Regions from separate parts of the Homo sapiens genome. Here all the other regions are linked to region 3. Evidence: promoter capture Hi-C in 16 types of primary human blood cells and fetal thymus (Javierre and others, 2016). All regions are on one chromosome and are shown on one strand. Each heading gives the region's core, a stretch centred on a gene start or on the middle of the fragment in contact. The rest is flanking DNA. Distances are from core to core; before and after follow the strand shown.

Region 1 (5,116 bases), core at 2,472-4,971, 1.2 Mb before region 3:
TTTAAAAAAATTTTTTGACATAATTTCAGACTGACAGAAAAGTTGCAAGAATAGTCCACAGAATTCCTGGATACTCTTCTCCCAGATTCCTCAAATGCTAACATTTTGCTACGTATTCCCTCCTTCTCTCTCTCACTATCTCTATACACACACAAATTATTTTCTAAACCATTTAAGAGTAAATTGCAGACACAGTGCCCTTTTACCTCTAAGTATTTTTTTCCTGAAAATAAAGAATTCTATTATATAACCATAGTACAATGATCAGAATCAGAAATTAACATTAAATCGATACCATCATGTAATCTGCAGACCTTACTGAGATTTTGTTAGTTGTCCCAATAGTGTCCTTTATAGCAAAAGAAAATCCAAGATCATAAGGTGCATTACATTGTCATGCCTCTGTAGTCTCCTTTAATCTGATTTCTGAGTCTGTTTTTAGGTTTTGTGACATTGATTTTTTTTAAGAATATAGGCCAGTTATTTGTGGATTTTCTCTCAATTTAGATTTGCCTGATGTCTTCTCACAGTTACATTCAGGTAATGCACTTTTGGCAGGAGAACCACTGAATGATACTGAGTGCTTCTCAGGACACCCTATCAGCAAGTACATGCTGCCAATTTAGTCCCAGCACTAGCAGTGTTGACTTTCACCATTTGATTAAGGTGGTATCTGCCTGGTTTTTTCATTGTAAAGTTACTCCTTTGCTTTTTGTAATTATTTGTCTTGGAGACTATGTTAATGTCTTTTTAACACCTCAAACTTTCACCAACTACTTTTAGCATTTTTGCCTGAATCAGTTTTTTATTATGGTGGTTGGCAAATGGGGATTTCTAATTTTACCCTTCCTTCTACATTTACTTGTTGCCTTACTCCTTGCAATCTGGCTCTTTCCCACTGCTCCAGGAAACCCCTTCTTTTCCTAGTACTTACTTATTTATTTCAGCACAGACTCATTATTATTTTTATTCTCATTATTTATTTTGATGTGCAGATATTTATTTTGATGTTCAAATGGTCTTTGATTTAGCCAGTGAGAGCCACTTCTAGTTGGCCCCAGTGTCTCTTTGACATGATCTCATCAGTCTTTGACCACTTTATGGTGTAAAAAGACACTCCAAGGCTGGGCGTTGTGGCTCATGCCTGTAATCCCAGCACTTTGGGAGGCCAAGGCAGGAGGATCACTTGAGGTCAGGAGTTCAAGACCAGCCTGGCCAACATGGTGAAACCCCATGTTGCTAAAACCCCATCTCTGCTAAAAAATACAAAAAAATTAGCTGAGCATGATGGTGCACACCTATAATCTCAGCTACTTGGGAGGCCGAGGCAGTAGAATCACTTGAACCCAGGAGGCGGAGGTTGCAGTGAGCCAAGATTGTGCCACTGCACTCCAGCCTGGGTGACTCCGTCTCATAAATAAATAAATAAATAAATAAAAGATACTCCAGGCTCAACTTGTCTTTTCTTTGTCCTGGCCCTGGAATTAACCATTTATCCAAGGAGACTTTGATTCTTCAGTGGAGAATGAAATTTAAAAAATCACTATCTGGGGCTGGATGTGCTCCTTGATACTATCATGTCATTGTTTTAGGCCCTCTCAGAGGACAGAACTAGGAAATAGATGTATACTTGTGTGCATATACATACATGTACACACATTCATAAATGCACACCCGTACTCACATGTCTGTAGCTACACTTTCTCATCTCCTTCCTGTTTCTTTCTTTCTCTTCCCTTCCTCCTTCTCTTGCTGTCTATGTATCTTTCTGTGTCTGTCTGCCTATATGTCTGTATTAAAACTCACAAGTTCACACAGGTATCTCCAATTCAAATCCAACACTACATATTTCCAACTCCCTTGTCCCAGAGCATGAAAGCTGGCTATCATTATCCACAATATATTTACTTTTTTGCTCAGTTCTGGAATGTACAAAAGGTAGTTTCTGAATTGTAATCCGTGTCTCTGCTCAAGAAGAAGCCTGCAAAATTAGAGTTCAGTATTTGTTTAGAGTACATCTGTCTTTAGCCTGACGGCATATAGTCCAAATGCTATATTCAAAAGTTACTGGGGTTAATTTTTTTCATCTTCACTTTTTAGCGTGGTTATGTTACTTATCTGAGATTCAGTTTGGTTCATTGGTTTCTGTTGGTATTTATTTGGGGGTTTTCCACTATCCTTATGGATTTTTTTTTCCTTCCTTTCCCTCTTCCTCCCTTCATTCATTCATTTCTTTCTTCCTGTCTCTCGTGTATATGTGAAACATTAACATGGTTCCAAATATACAAAAAGGTATATTCAGAAAAGTTATCTGCTACCCCATTCCCTCTGTCCTTTCCTTCCTATTCCTACCAGTTCCCTGTAGATAACTAATCTCATTAGTCTCTGATTTTTGTTTTCTGTTTCTTTTTGCACAAGTGATTCAGATGTATATATATTTTCTCATGTCTTCTTTTCTTATATGAAGGGTAGTGTATTATAAATATACTTTTTGCGCATAGTGCTTTCTGCTGAACAATATATTCCAATCTCTCCACATTAATTCATAGAAGTGTCACAGAGATCTTCCTCATTTTTGTTTTATATCTTCATTTTACTCCAGTTTGTGGATAGACCATTGTTTACTCAGCTACTCTCCTTCATGGGGACTCAGATTGATTCTAATAATTTACAGTTACAAACAATATAGCAGTGAGTAACCCTGTACATGTTTATTGTTGGAGGTGTGTCTACAGGGTAAATTCCTAGAAGTGAGACTCCTGGGTCAAAAGTTAAATGTGATACTTGTCCTTCAAGTTGCCTGCTTGGGTCTCTTTCAAGTGTCTTTTCTTTCTTTCCTGTGCTAAATCTTTTTAATTAAAAAAAAAAGTGATGAATGCATGGTGTTTTTGTTAGCGATTGCCAAATTCCCCTCCATAAGAATTATGCCAATTTGCATGACCACCAGCACCTCTTCTATGAGGGCGCCTGCTTCCCACAGCCTCACCAACAGCATATATTGCTATACTTTTAAATTTTTGCTAATCGGTTGGGTAAGAGATGGTATTTCCATGTATTTTTAATTTGTGTTATGAGATTGAACATCTTTTTATGTACTTAAGGACCTCTTTTTTGGTAAATTGGTCATATGTTTTTCCCTGTTTTTATTCAGTTTTGATCTTTTTATACTTCAATAATTATTATTATAATTATTATTATTATTTAGACAGTGTCTTCCTCTGTCACCCAAGCTTGAGTGCAGTGGCTTAGTCTCAGCTCGCTGCAACCTCCACCTCCCAGGCTCAAGCGATTCTTGTGTCTCAGCCTCCTGAGTAGCTGGGATTACAGGCATGTGCCATCACGCCTACCTAATTTTTATATGTTTTTTAGTAGAGATGGGGTTTTGCCATGTTGGCCAAGCTGGTCTCAAACTCCTGACCTCAAATGACAAACACCGTTCATCAGTCTGTGTATCTTTCAGATGGTACCTATTTGTTTTTTCTTTAGTGAGCTTTCTAACTACTTTTTAAAAATCCGAAATACTTCCCTGAAGTTTTGTCACAATTGATTATTTTTAAGTGACTCTTGATGCCTGTAATTATATAAACACATTGATTGTGAGAGCAGGGGAGGCCATCTCCAAGGTCACGGCATCACAGGACTGGGTTCATTGAATTTGTAGGCATGGATTCTCCTCAGGCTATTGACCGGTCTTTGACAGGTTCATTCTGGTAGGCCTAAGGAGGGTACATATTTAAAGCCATAAAATCGTTTCTTTCCTTTAACCTGATAATCCCAGAACAGATCATTTATCCTAAGGAAATAATTTTAAAAGGTTAAAAAACTAAATGCATGGAGACATTAATTGAGGTAATATTTCTATTAGTGGAAAAACTGGAACAATCTAAATGTTTAATATTAACATTATAGTTAGGCATGAAAAGACCATTCATTGGATTTTGGAAAATGCAACAATGATAAATAAAAGCTGTAGGGATATAGAAACATGTTTATGTTTAAGTGCAAAACGAAACAAAACTTGTATTTATTATGAGGAAAACTGACAAAAACTTGAGCCTGTGTAAGAAAGCATAAGCGGACTGTTTCAAGTGAGATACACTTAGGGGCAGGGTAAAAGATGGATCCAGCCACCAAATGAAGTCTCAGGAAGACCTGAAGAAGTACTATCAGATGGCTTGGATCTATCCGTGGAGCAAATTTTAAGAAAGCTTCAATGGGTTATATTGGTCACTTGCTGGGGCCTGACATTTTGAAATAGGACAGAAGTCCATAACTGGGAAATTGAAGGACTTAGTGGTTGCTGCTTGAAGCTTTCTGGGTTTACTTTTAGAGATGGTTCCCAGTATGACATTAGTAAACAGAAGGATAATAGTATGGGACTGGATGATTATAGGATAGAACCAGGGGTATGTGATGAACCCAAGGGTGTAGGAGCGTGGCTGTGTCTATCAGTAAAACAGAAAAATGCCTCTTAGCACTAATGATCTGGTGGCAAAATTTTAGAAATTTGATTATAGACATATACCAACTGTGCAATATGAAATTTTTCTGATGTCTGCTTACTTTTATTTGCTTTTTAAAGAACCAGCTGCAGTTTAATAGGAATGTTCCTACACATTCAAGCAACTTGGCGATCCGATATTCTTGCCCACATGCCATTAGAATTGAAAAACTGAAGCACTCATACAATGAATCATACCATTGTAAAGATGCAGATTGTAGAGTTGGTCCTGACCTGGGCAGTTCTGTTTCATTTTCCGTCATATCCCAAGAGAGACTTAGCTATGCTGTCCACCTAGCCAGAAGAGATGTGAAACGAAGACAATTTGAAAAACATATAAAAGAACATCATCTCAGAAGTCAGCCTCAAAGCTCTCAGAAGTGTGGACATACTAAGTATAAAATACCCGACCACAGGGTGGAAAGGAAGGAATCAAAGAGTCAAGCAGCCTGTCAGTGTAGCCACCAGCCATCCAAAGTAGAAATCTCCAGCTCTGGTGCCAAAGTATACCTTTACTCATCTCATCCAGGCCAGTCAGATCTTACTGTGCCAAATTCGCCACCCACCCATGATCCGGGACTTCAGCCTCATCCCAGGATAGGTGACCACAAAAAC
Region 2 (4,589 bases), core at 241-2,740, 1.1 Mb before region 3:
AGTAAATAAATATTTTAAAATAATTCTAACTCTAAGTCAAGATAATTATGAACTATAAAACTATATAGATCTCACCAACACTGTCTTAGCTGCAGGGAGCAATTAGGATAATGTTGATGTTACTGTCTTGTCATCCTCACTCATAGCACATTAGAATGAGAAGCTGCCATTTCACAGGGCTAGAGAGAAGAGGAGCAGGGTCCAGTTAGGTGGAAATAATCTTTAGGGGAATCGGTTGAAGATAAAGGGGAGCTCGTTTGCCGTGAGGCAGTAGTTTTTGAAAACACAATGGAAAGGACCAGGAGGTGGAACAGAAAAAGGAAAGAAGTAAAAAGCAGTCATGTCAGGGGAGAAGGGAGAAGATAGGTGACTACAGGGTTCTGTCTTTGGAGCCATCAGAAGTCAGGGTGAGCAGCTTGGTGGAAGAGAAGCCCCCTAAGATTCCGAATGAGTGTGAAGGAATGGCCGTGCTCATCCATCCACTCTCATTTTCAAGTTAAGGAAACAATGTTTAGAGAATTTAATGTCTTATTCATGTAACAGCCAGACCTAAAATCAGGTCTTCTGACTTCATAATGTGCTTTTTTTGTTTTTATTACTCTATTCTGTTTTCTGTATTTTTGTATACAAGTATTAATATGGAGATTTACATTCAGTTGATAAGCTCAGTGGTTGAAGTTTGTATTACAAACCAAATATACAATGGACTGTCTTTTAGAGTGCATGTGTGGTGGGTAGAGGAGGGTGGGTGAGGCTTCTAGGCTCAACAGTGCTGTTAGGCCTTATAAAGATACGGAGTTGCCTTATAATATGGAATGTAATTAGTGATCCAAATCTATGTATTGTGACAGAGTTTTGTTGACACTCACCCAATATTCTGTAATTGATCACTGTTTCTCATTTAAAATGGTGATGGCTTCTTTGAAGCAAAGGAGAATTTCTGCCCTTTGACACTGTGCCTGAGTGCGGGAGGATCTCACTTTTCTTCACATTCAGCTTCTACTGTAGGGCCCCGTGCTACAGATCACCATTAATTTAATGCTGTTGTCATCTCTGAGCTGGCACCTACTTGGATGAGTCATTGGATACGGAGTGAATGATGACAAAGGTATGCTTTTCCATTTATTTCAGTGCTGCATGGCTAAAGGTGAAAACTAGCCCCAGAGATGCCACAAAAGAGCCTCTCCAGCAAGAAGATCCTCAAGAGGAAAGTCACCTGACAGGTGCTGTTGAGCATGAAGCAGCCAGGTTTGTGCTGGTATTTTTCAGATCTTTGAGAATTAAAGAGCTCCTTTTACATAGACTTGGAAGTGAACCCTTTCTTCTCTTTCCTACATTTAAAGTTGGTTATTTAAAATGTAGATTATTTTTAAAAATAGAATAAATACATAAAATGTAGTTTATTAAACGTTTCAGTCAAACTATATAGCTTATAGTGAGCTCTTCTATTTTTTCTTATTCATTCATAAATTATATATGTGTCAATTATATATCACTTGCTAGTTTTGTATGTGACAGTGTTATGAGCTCTATGGAGACTTTAAAAAGGGCAAATAGGCCATAATCCCAGCCCTTGCTTATTTATAGTCAATAGAGAAGTTATGTAATTAACTATAATTTAAGATAGAACACGGTATGTAACCTAGGAACTGAGAGAGTTTAGAAACGGGGGAGGGTTACTTCTGGCTGCAGAGGTCTAGGCTTCATGGATGGAAATTAAACTAGGACCTGAAGAACAGGCAGGATTTCAATATGGGAGATGAGGTGAGAACATTCCATAAGAAGAGAACAGTGAGAACAGGTTTCTCTGTATTCATTTGGCTGAAATTATTCTTACAGTTATGGGAAAACAAAAATGAAAGCGGTCCATTAAATAATTTGACAATATTCATATATCCTAAACCAAAAGAATCAAAGCACTTTTACATACAGCAGAGTTGTTCACAGTTAACTTTTCCCTTTTGTTTTTATTTGACTTCACCATGCCTATATGGCTCCTGGGGGCTCATTGTTTGTCTCAACTTGAAGATATAGCAATGGTTTTGTTTGAGTCTAATAAGAAACCCCAAGTCTGAGTGATAGCTGGTTTTCTTGAGAACGTTTGAGACAGGTTCTCATTGCGTTGTGCATTAATGTTTTTTGACATGGAACACGTTCTAGAGAGCTTTAGGGGTACGGAGAGATTATGTTACCTACTGAGTAGCTTAATAGAGCCTGGATTGGTGCTCTGCTCTGCAGTGGTCCTGATTTCTGGTCTGTTTCTGTGATGATGACACCCTGCAGTGTCGAGGCAGAATTGGTTTGACTCTTTTGACTGTCTGCTAGGCTCGCTTGGCTTGATGCTGAAACTTCCAAAAGATTGAAGGAACTAGAAGAGTTAAAAGCCAAGGAAATTGACAGCATGCAAAAACAGAGGTAAATATTTGCTTCTGAGTTAGGAAAAGGTAAGCAGGCCTATTCTACATCTCTATACATTAATGATAAATAGAGATTATTTAGGTCTAGCTACACTTCTGCCTCCTTAAAAGACTGAAGTCACTTAAGAAGCCAAGGGGGGAGCCAAGACTGGAGCTCAAGGGAGCCCTGACTCTGCCTTGAGGAGAGTTGGGGTGACTCTTGATACTGTTCTCTAGGCTTGATTGGCTTGATGCTGAAACTTCTAGAAGAACAAAGGAACTGAATGAGCTCAAAGCTGAAGAAATGTATAGACTCCAACAATTGAGGTATGTGTTTGCTTCTTAGGAAGAATAGTGGATGTTTGCCTGTTCTAATTGATCTAGATAGTTCTAGCAACCAACCTGGACTGTTAAGGCCTAACTTCATTACATGAATGAATGAATAGCTGCATGTCTACCTGTATATTATACCATATTTTTTTGCTAGGAAATGCTTCTTTTGTGTGGAGTTTGAAGGAGAACTGAAAAAAATCTGTAATTGTAGAGAAGTTCTGTCTGAAAGATCAGAGTCTTATGTGTATTTGTTTGGACTACCCTCAAAGGTACTTTTCTCTAGCCAGATGTCAGTCCTTCTAAGGGCAGAAGATGAGTATGATGCACATACATGTTCTGCTCATGTGAATCAACATATAGCTACTTTAGTTTCGTATGTTAGCTTGAGTGCAGGCTATGGTTTTCAAATGCGGTTCCCTTTTTCTATTCACTCCATAAGTGTTTTTTAAACTATAGGCACTATAGACATAAAGAAGCTTGTTAAAAGATTTAGTTCAGCTGCTGCTGCAATTACCTCATTTTTCCAACTCTGATAATAATTCATCCTATAGTCACATTAACAGAACACTCATTGAAACATCTGTGCATTCTGTCACCATTCATGATGGAGTGTTCAGTCTCAGGTTAGAAGGGCTGTGGGTTTATCATTAGAAGGCCAAGACTTTTTGTCTGTAGTAAAGATTTCAAGTCATACAATCCCAGAATCTTGGGATTTGAAGGATCTTTTCCCCCCAACTGAGGCTTTTGGCTCCTCTCTACTATCTCCACCAAGGAACTGTCCAGTATATTTACACACACCCTCTGTGATGGGATAGTCACTACTGTCAGAGGGAATACATTTCATGGTCATTTATAGCTAAGAAGGTGTGACCTCAGGCTGTGTTGAAGTTTGGTTCTCTGTGACTCTTACCCACTTGTCCTTTGGGCCATATAGCAAAAGCTTCATCCTCTGTGTCCCGTTTATTCCTCTGTGTGTTTTTACTTCAGAAATTAAACATATCACACATATAGAAGAACATACTGAATGCACATGTGCAATCCAAAATATTACAGAATGAACATCCACGCACCACCATCGTAAGTCAAGGAATCGACCGTTGCCACTGCTGCAGAAGTTTCCAGTGTATCCCTCCTCAGTTGCATCCCCTTTCCCCCGAGAGGCAGCCACTGTCCTGATTCTTGTGTTGATCTTTTCATTACTCTTCTTCATAAATCTGTCAACTATGTGTGTATCCCTAACAATATCTTGTTTAATTTTGAAAACTGAGAAACAGGCACAAATCTAGCTGAACATGGAAAGGGCAGTGTTTCTGGTAGTATCAGATGAAGACTCCTAGGGGAAGACAGGTTGAACAGAGCCTGGATCCTAATCTGATTTGTGCTTTCATGAGAGTTGTAGGTGCCCCTCTCAGGAGGTCACTGAGCAGGGTCGGGAGTGAGTCCTGCACACACAGGGCGTCCTCCATCTGGAGGGCCTGTCGGTGAGCCAGGTCCACTGGACTTCGGGAGGAAGCCTTGTCAGGAGAGGGGCTGCGCTGTAATGCACGGCTTCTCAGCTCTTTCTGGTCAGCTACTGTGGGGATGGGATGACTATCCTTAGCAGACAGCAGGTCTGCAGTGAGTAGGAGAAACTTCATCAGCAAAGGGGCAAGACAAGCCAGGAATCTAGGCTTAGACCTCCCATTTCCCATATTGTGTTGTAATCTTCTTCAGTTTACTTGCTTGTTTTGATGGAGCACATGCTAATGTAGCTGCTGCTTTTTTTTTTTTTTTTTTTTCAAGTTAGAGACAAGGTCTCACTATGTTGCCCAGGCTGGTCTTGGACTCCTGGGCTCAAGTGATCCTTCTGCCTTGGCCTCC
Region 3 (4,409 bases), core at 1,458-3,957:
GTATGATCAAGTCACTCCTCTGCTCAGAAATCCACAGTGACTTCTTAGTAAGCCCCTACATTATATGCATACTTGTTTTTTTCTTAACTTTACTCCCACTTCTACCTAACAGGGACCTCAACTTAAGTCTCTTCAGTTCTTCAAGGCCTGGCCTTGTTCCTGATTCCTCAAAAAATCTTGACTCTAAGGCCTATTTTATTGTCTGTCTCTGAATCCCTATAAAGCTTCAAGTCTGTATGACATTCTTAACGCCAAATTATATATTGTCTTGTACTGTTCCTAGCTGGTACATGTATATTAGTCTTGTCTCCCTCATGAGAATGTAAGCTCCTTAAGGGCAGGGACCATGTCTTAATTTTTGTATCCACCACAGTGCCTAGCACAGTGCTTGGCACATGGGTGCTGAATAAATACCTTTGTTTATTGATCAGCAAAGTATTATCTGGTATTTTTAATTATAGAGGGATTAAAGTGTATGCATGCAAGCTTGAGCCTAGTTGCTGAAGCTTGTGGTTGTCTCTGAAAGTGGGATAGAGGGAAACTGAACATGATCAAGGGCAGTAATTTGGTGGTCGGAAAAGCAAAGGTGACCACCAGCTGTTATGGTCGTGATCAGACCAGTTAAGTCCACAGACCATCCCAGACAAGTTAAAAATGAAATGTGTCTGACACTTCGTCGTTTGAAGGAAGAACCAGGATATTCTCTGAATAGTTATTAGCTTGTCAGTATCTACATATGAAAGCTGGTGAACCCCAAGAGACTTCTTCAGGAGAAACAGCAGATTTCAGTCTACCAATGGGAGAAATGTGAGCAGCATGGCTTGATGCATATATAGGACTTAATTTTTCCACTCTTTGGTCCTCTTAGCTTTGAGGCTATAGAATAGCTGGATCATTAGGCCAGAGATTATGGATGAGTTACCTACAGATTTGTTACCTACCTATGTGCTTTGTTTTGACAGTACTTTTTTTTTTTTTAAGTTTAAACCTGTATTTAACATTGACAGATAAAAATCTTCACTTTTGGCTTTTCTTGAGAAAATTGGAAGATCTGGCAATAATAGGTCTACATGACAGCCATTGCCTAGAAATGATTAGGGGCTGCATGTAGAGGTGGAATGTGCTCCATCAAGAAATAAGTCCACCCATTTACATTACCTAAATTATTGTAATCATTTGGAACATCGGACTCCTACCTTAAGTTACTCTGGAAAGCACACTGGGAAAAAGGACTGGGATGTCTTTACTCAAAGTCCATAATTTGAGAGTTAACATTTATTATCCCTTGTAGTTTTGGGTTGCCTTTCTAAATATTTCAGGGTAGGAAGTGAAAATTTGTCAGTTTATTCTTAAACACAAATCTGCTGCTGGTTCAACGTGCACATTTTCAGTAATGCCTGGTCACCAAACTGTCAGCAACTAGAGGAAAATTATCTCCGACCTGGAGCAAAGGGGAGGTTTTTTGTTTTTAGACTAGCTCTCTCACGAATCACGGGAAGGGAGATATTTAACAGGGCGAGTTTCATGGAAACGAGCTTCAGAAGATACCCTTCACATGAGCTGAAGCTTACGGTGTATTCTCTGGAAATCACATTTCCTGTAAGAGCAAACAGCTACTTGGCATTCTCCGTGGTAAATTAGCAAATCATCTAAGAACTTTTAGGAGGGTAAGGAAGAACTAGTTATAATCCTACTTTTTTCTGCTGCAGTTCTGAATCTTCACTGAAGTGTCTGTGATGGGGTTGCACAGCCATGTAGAGAACTTGAGAGTCTGGCTGGAATGGTTGGGGGAAAGGAAAGATAAAAGACAATTTTAATTTCATTGAACTCCCTCCTTTCTCTGCTTGTATTACTGGAGGCGACCACATCCGTTGGAGGAGTCATTTTCTGAGTTAAATTCATGTATATCAGAATTGGTTTTCCTTTCTGTAACACAAGATGATCACAAAATTATGATTTGGGGACATCTGAATGACTAAGATGACTCAATTTCTTAATCTGTAAATTAGAGATAATCTAATAACCAGTATATACCACATAACTTATAAGTTGTTTAGAGGATTAGACAATGCACGTTTGCGCTTCTCATTGATTTTACAGAATTAAGTACTTTCCTTGAAGAGTGACTGTTATTTGGACAGAGAAGGGGAAAACGCGGGTTTACTGAAAAGAAGTAATGCTACTAGAACAAAACAATGGGCGGGGCGCGGTGGCTCACGCCTATAATCCCAGCACTTTGGGAGGCCGAGGCAGGCGGATCACCTGAGGTCGGGAGTTCAAGACCAGCCTGACCAACATGGAGAAACCCTGTCTCTACTAAAAATACAAAATTAGACGGGCCCCGGTGGCGCACGCCTGTAACCCCAGCTACTTGGGAGGCTGAGGCAGGAGAATCGCTTGAACCCAGGAGGCGGAGGTTGCAGTGTGAGCCGAGATCGCGCCATTGCACTCCAGCCTGGGCAACAAGAGCGAAACTCCATCTCAAAAAAAAAAAATAAAACAATGAGAAAAACCTCGTTAACCAAGACTACAGTCCCACGGAACCTTACATCCTGTGTTTCCCGGTTGTAGCTCCGGGCCTTTTCCTGGTTGTACCTCAGGCCCTGCTTTTCCCACCCCCAGGAAGTGAAAGCCTTCCCAAGCCCCCAAGGCATGCTGGGAGATGCAGTCCCTTTTTCTAAAGACTGGGGCGGCCGTGAGGTCATCGGTGGTCGCCGGGAGCCGCCAGCACGTGGCGGCGAGGAAGGGGCGGTGTGCTCCTGTTGTCTGCACCTGAGAGGGGGCAGGAGCTCTCGGCGCTTGCGCCTCCCGCCGCGGTGCCCTCCCGACATGCCGGAGGAGGCGGGCTTCCCGCCGGCCAAGAGATTCCGGCCAGGCTCTGGACCTCCGAGCCGCGCTGGGTCCTTCCCTCCCGGGAGGCAAGTGGTGATGCTGCTGACTGCGGGCAGCGGCGGCAGAGGAGGAGGAGGAGGCCGGAGGCAGCAGCCGCCCCTGGCCCAGCCCTCGGCCAGTCCCTACCCTGAAGCTGTGGAGCTGCAGCGCCGGAGTCTGCCCATCTTCCAAGCGCGGGGGCAACTGTTGGCCCAGCTCCGAAACCTGGACAACGCGGTCCTCATCGGTGAGTGGCCGCGCCGGCGGGCTCTTCCTTGCACTTCGTCCGTGGCTTAGCTAGAGCAGTTTTTCTTACATGCCTCTCAATCCCTTTCGTTCGTGGCTTCAACAAACCTGAATACCTTTTCTGGGCCAGACCTGGAGAGGGGCCTCGAAGAAGAGTCCGGCAGCCCTGCCCTGGAGGCGCTGGACAGCCCGGTGAGAGTGACCAACGTGTGTAGGCAAAGACTCACCTTCCGCGTAAAAGGGTAGAGAAACGTACCGGGGGCTTGCGGATCTTAGAAGAGTGGATCTGACCCGGTTTGTGAGGAGGCGGCTGGGGAGGTCGTGTGGGAGGGAGGGCATTCTAGGCAGGGGGGAAAGCCCGTTTGAGAGATGGGAACCTGAACACATTCCGGTCGAAAGGGAAGGTGTAGTTTCTGGTGCATGAAAAGAGGCAGAGTTGTGGGGCAGGGACTGATTTCATGGGGCTTATGATCCCCAACGTGTTAGAGGAGATACTGAAGGACGGAAAGGATGAGCAGCCAAAGAGAGGAAGGAGACCCATGAGTGCTGCTAGTCAAAGGAATAGAGAGTGAGCAGATGCAGCAGTCAAGTCCGGTTATACTGGACTTGGATGTGATGCCCACTGGATTTGGATGTGAGCTATTTGTAAGAGTTAAAGAAAAAGGAAAGAAACACGAAACGCGGCTGGCAGTTAAAGACAGCTTTTCTTTAGTTAAAACCTGAGAGGCGCTCCTGGCCGATTTCGGTCAGGAGCCCTTTCTCTTACAGACTAAGAGTATATATTGGTGTTAGGGTGAGGGGGCTTATCACAAGCTTGGAATGTTTATATGTGTGGAGAAGTTTTTGGCAGGGTTGGACTCTTTGGGAGCAGGGGATGTTATCTTGGGGCAGACATTTTTCCGGCCCGAGGGGGTTTATCTCCCGGCTGGCATATTCCCGGCTGGCATATTCCCGGCCAGAGTGGGGTTATCCCTTAACATGTCTCTGGTCGGGGAGGAGTTTGGAATGTTTCTGGCTGGAGATGTTATTTGTGGTTTATGGTCGTGCTGACCTTAGCCATTAGGCTGATACCTTTTGGATTTAGGCGGTTTTTTATTAAGGTGAACTTTTGAATGAGGGGCTTGTCCAAGATGGTGATGTTCCTGCTTTGTCAATCCAGACCCTATAGTTATAAAAAGGAGGAGGGACGGCATGTTCTTTCTGGCTACTTCCTGCAACGAGGGGATGGAGAGTTTCCTGGTCTCGGGTTGACTAGGAGCAATGCCGTCTGTAGATGTTTTTGGGTAGTTGTT

The links. The method cuts DNA at HindIII sites, captures the fragments that hold promoters and counts their contacts. A CHiCAGO score of 5 or more calls a contact.
Region 1: a contact is called between a fragment that was not itself captured here and the fragment with the promoter of DHX33 in region 3, in 1 of 17 cell types (M0 macrophages). The highest score is 7.0, in M0 macrophages.
Region 2: a contact is called between a fragment that was not itself captured here and the fragment with the promoter of DHX33 in region 3, in 1 of 17 cell types (M1 macrophages). The highest score is 7.3, in M1 macrophages.

Annotation. Positions count from the first base shown.
Region 1 is chr17:6,628,208-6,633,323 of GRCh38, reverse strand. KIAA0753 reads left to right here. Exons shown (of 19, transcript NM_014804.3): 3 at 4,583-5,116. Among named protein-coding and RNA genes, the nearest start is that of KIAA0753, 9.9 kb to the left of the region's middle. The HindIII fragment of the contact is 978 bases long and covers 3,233-4,210 here.
Region 2 is chr17:6,605,007-6,609,595 of GRCh38, reverse strand. It overlaps KIAA0753, which reads left to right. Exons shown (of 19, transcript NM_014804.3): 10 at 1,132-1,248; 11 at 2,326-2,415; 12 at 2,634-2,723. Among named protein-coding and RNA genes, the nearest start is that of KIAA0753, 33 kb to the left of the region's middle. The HindIII fragment of the contact is 3,434 bases long and covers 1-3,207 here.
Region 3 is chr17:5,467,280-5,471,688 of GRCh38, reverse strand. DHX33 (DEAH-box helicase 33) reads left to right here and starts at 2,707. Exons shown (of 12, transcript NM_020162.4): 1 at 2,707-3,118. The coding sequence starts at 2,830. It overlaps DHX33-DT (DHX33 divergent transcript), which reads right to left and starts at 2,597. Exons shown (of 3, transcript NR_135644.1): 1 at 2,550-2,597; 2 at 1,695-1,775; 3 at 1,329-1,597. It overlaps DERL2 (derlin 2), which reads left to right. Exons shown (of 7, transcript NM_016041.5): 7 at 1-435. RefSeq lists enhancers at 2,614-2,683, 3,064-3,283, 3,073-3,655. The HindIII fragment of the contact is 2,364 bases long and covers 1,569-3,932 here.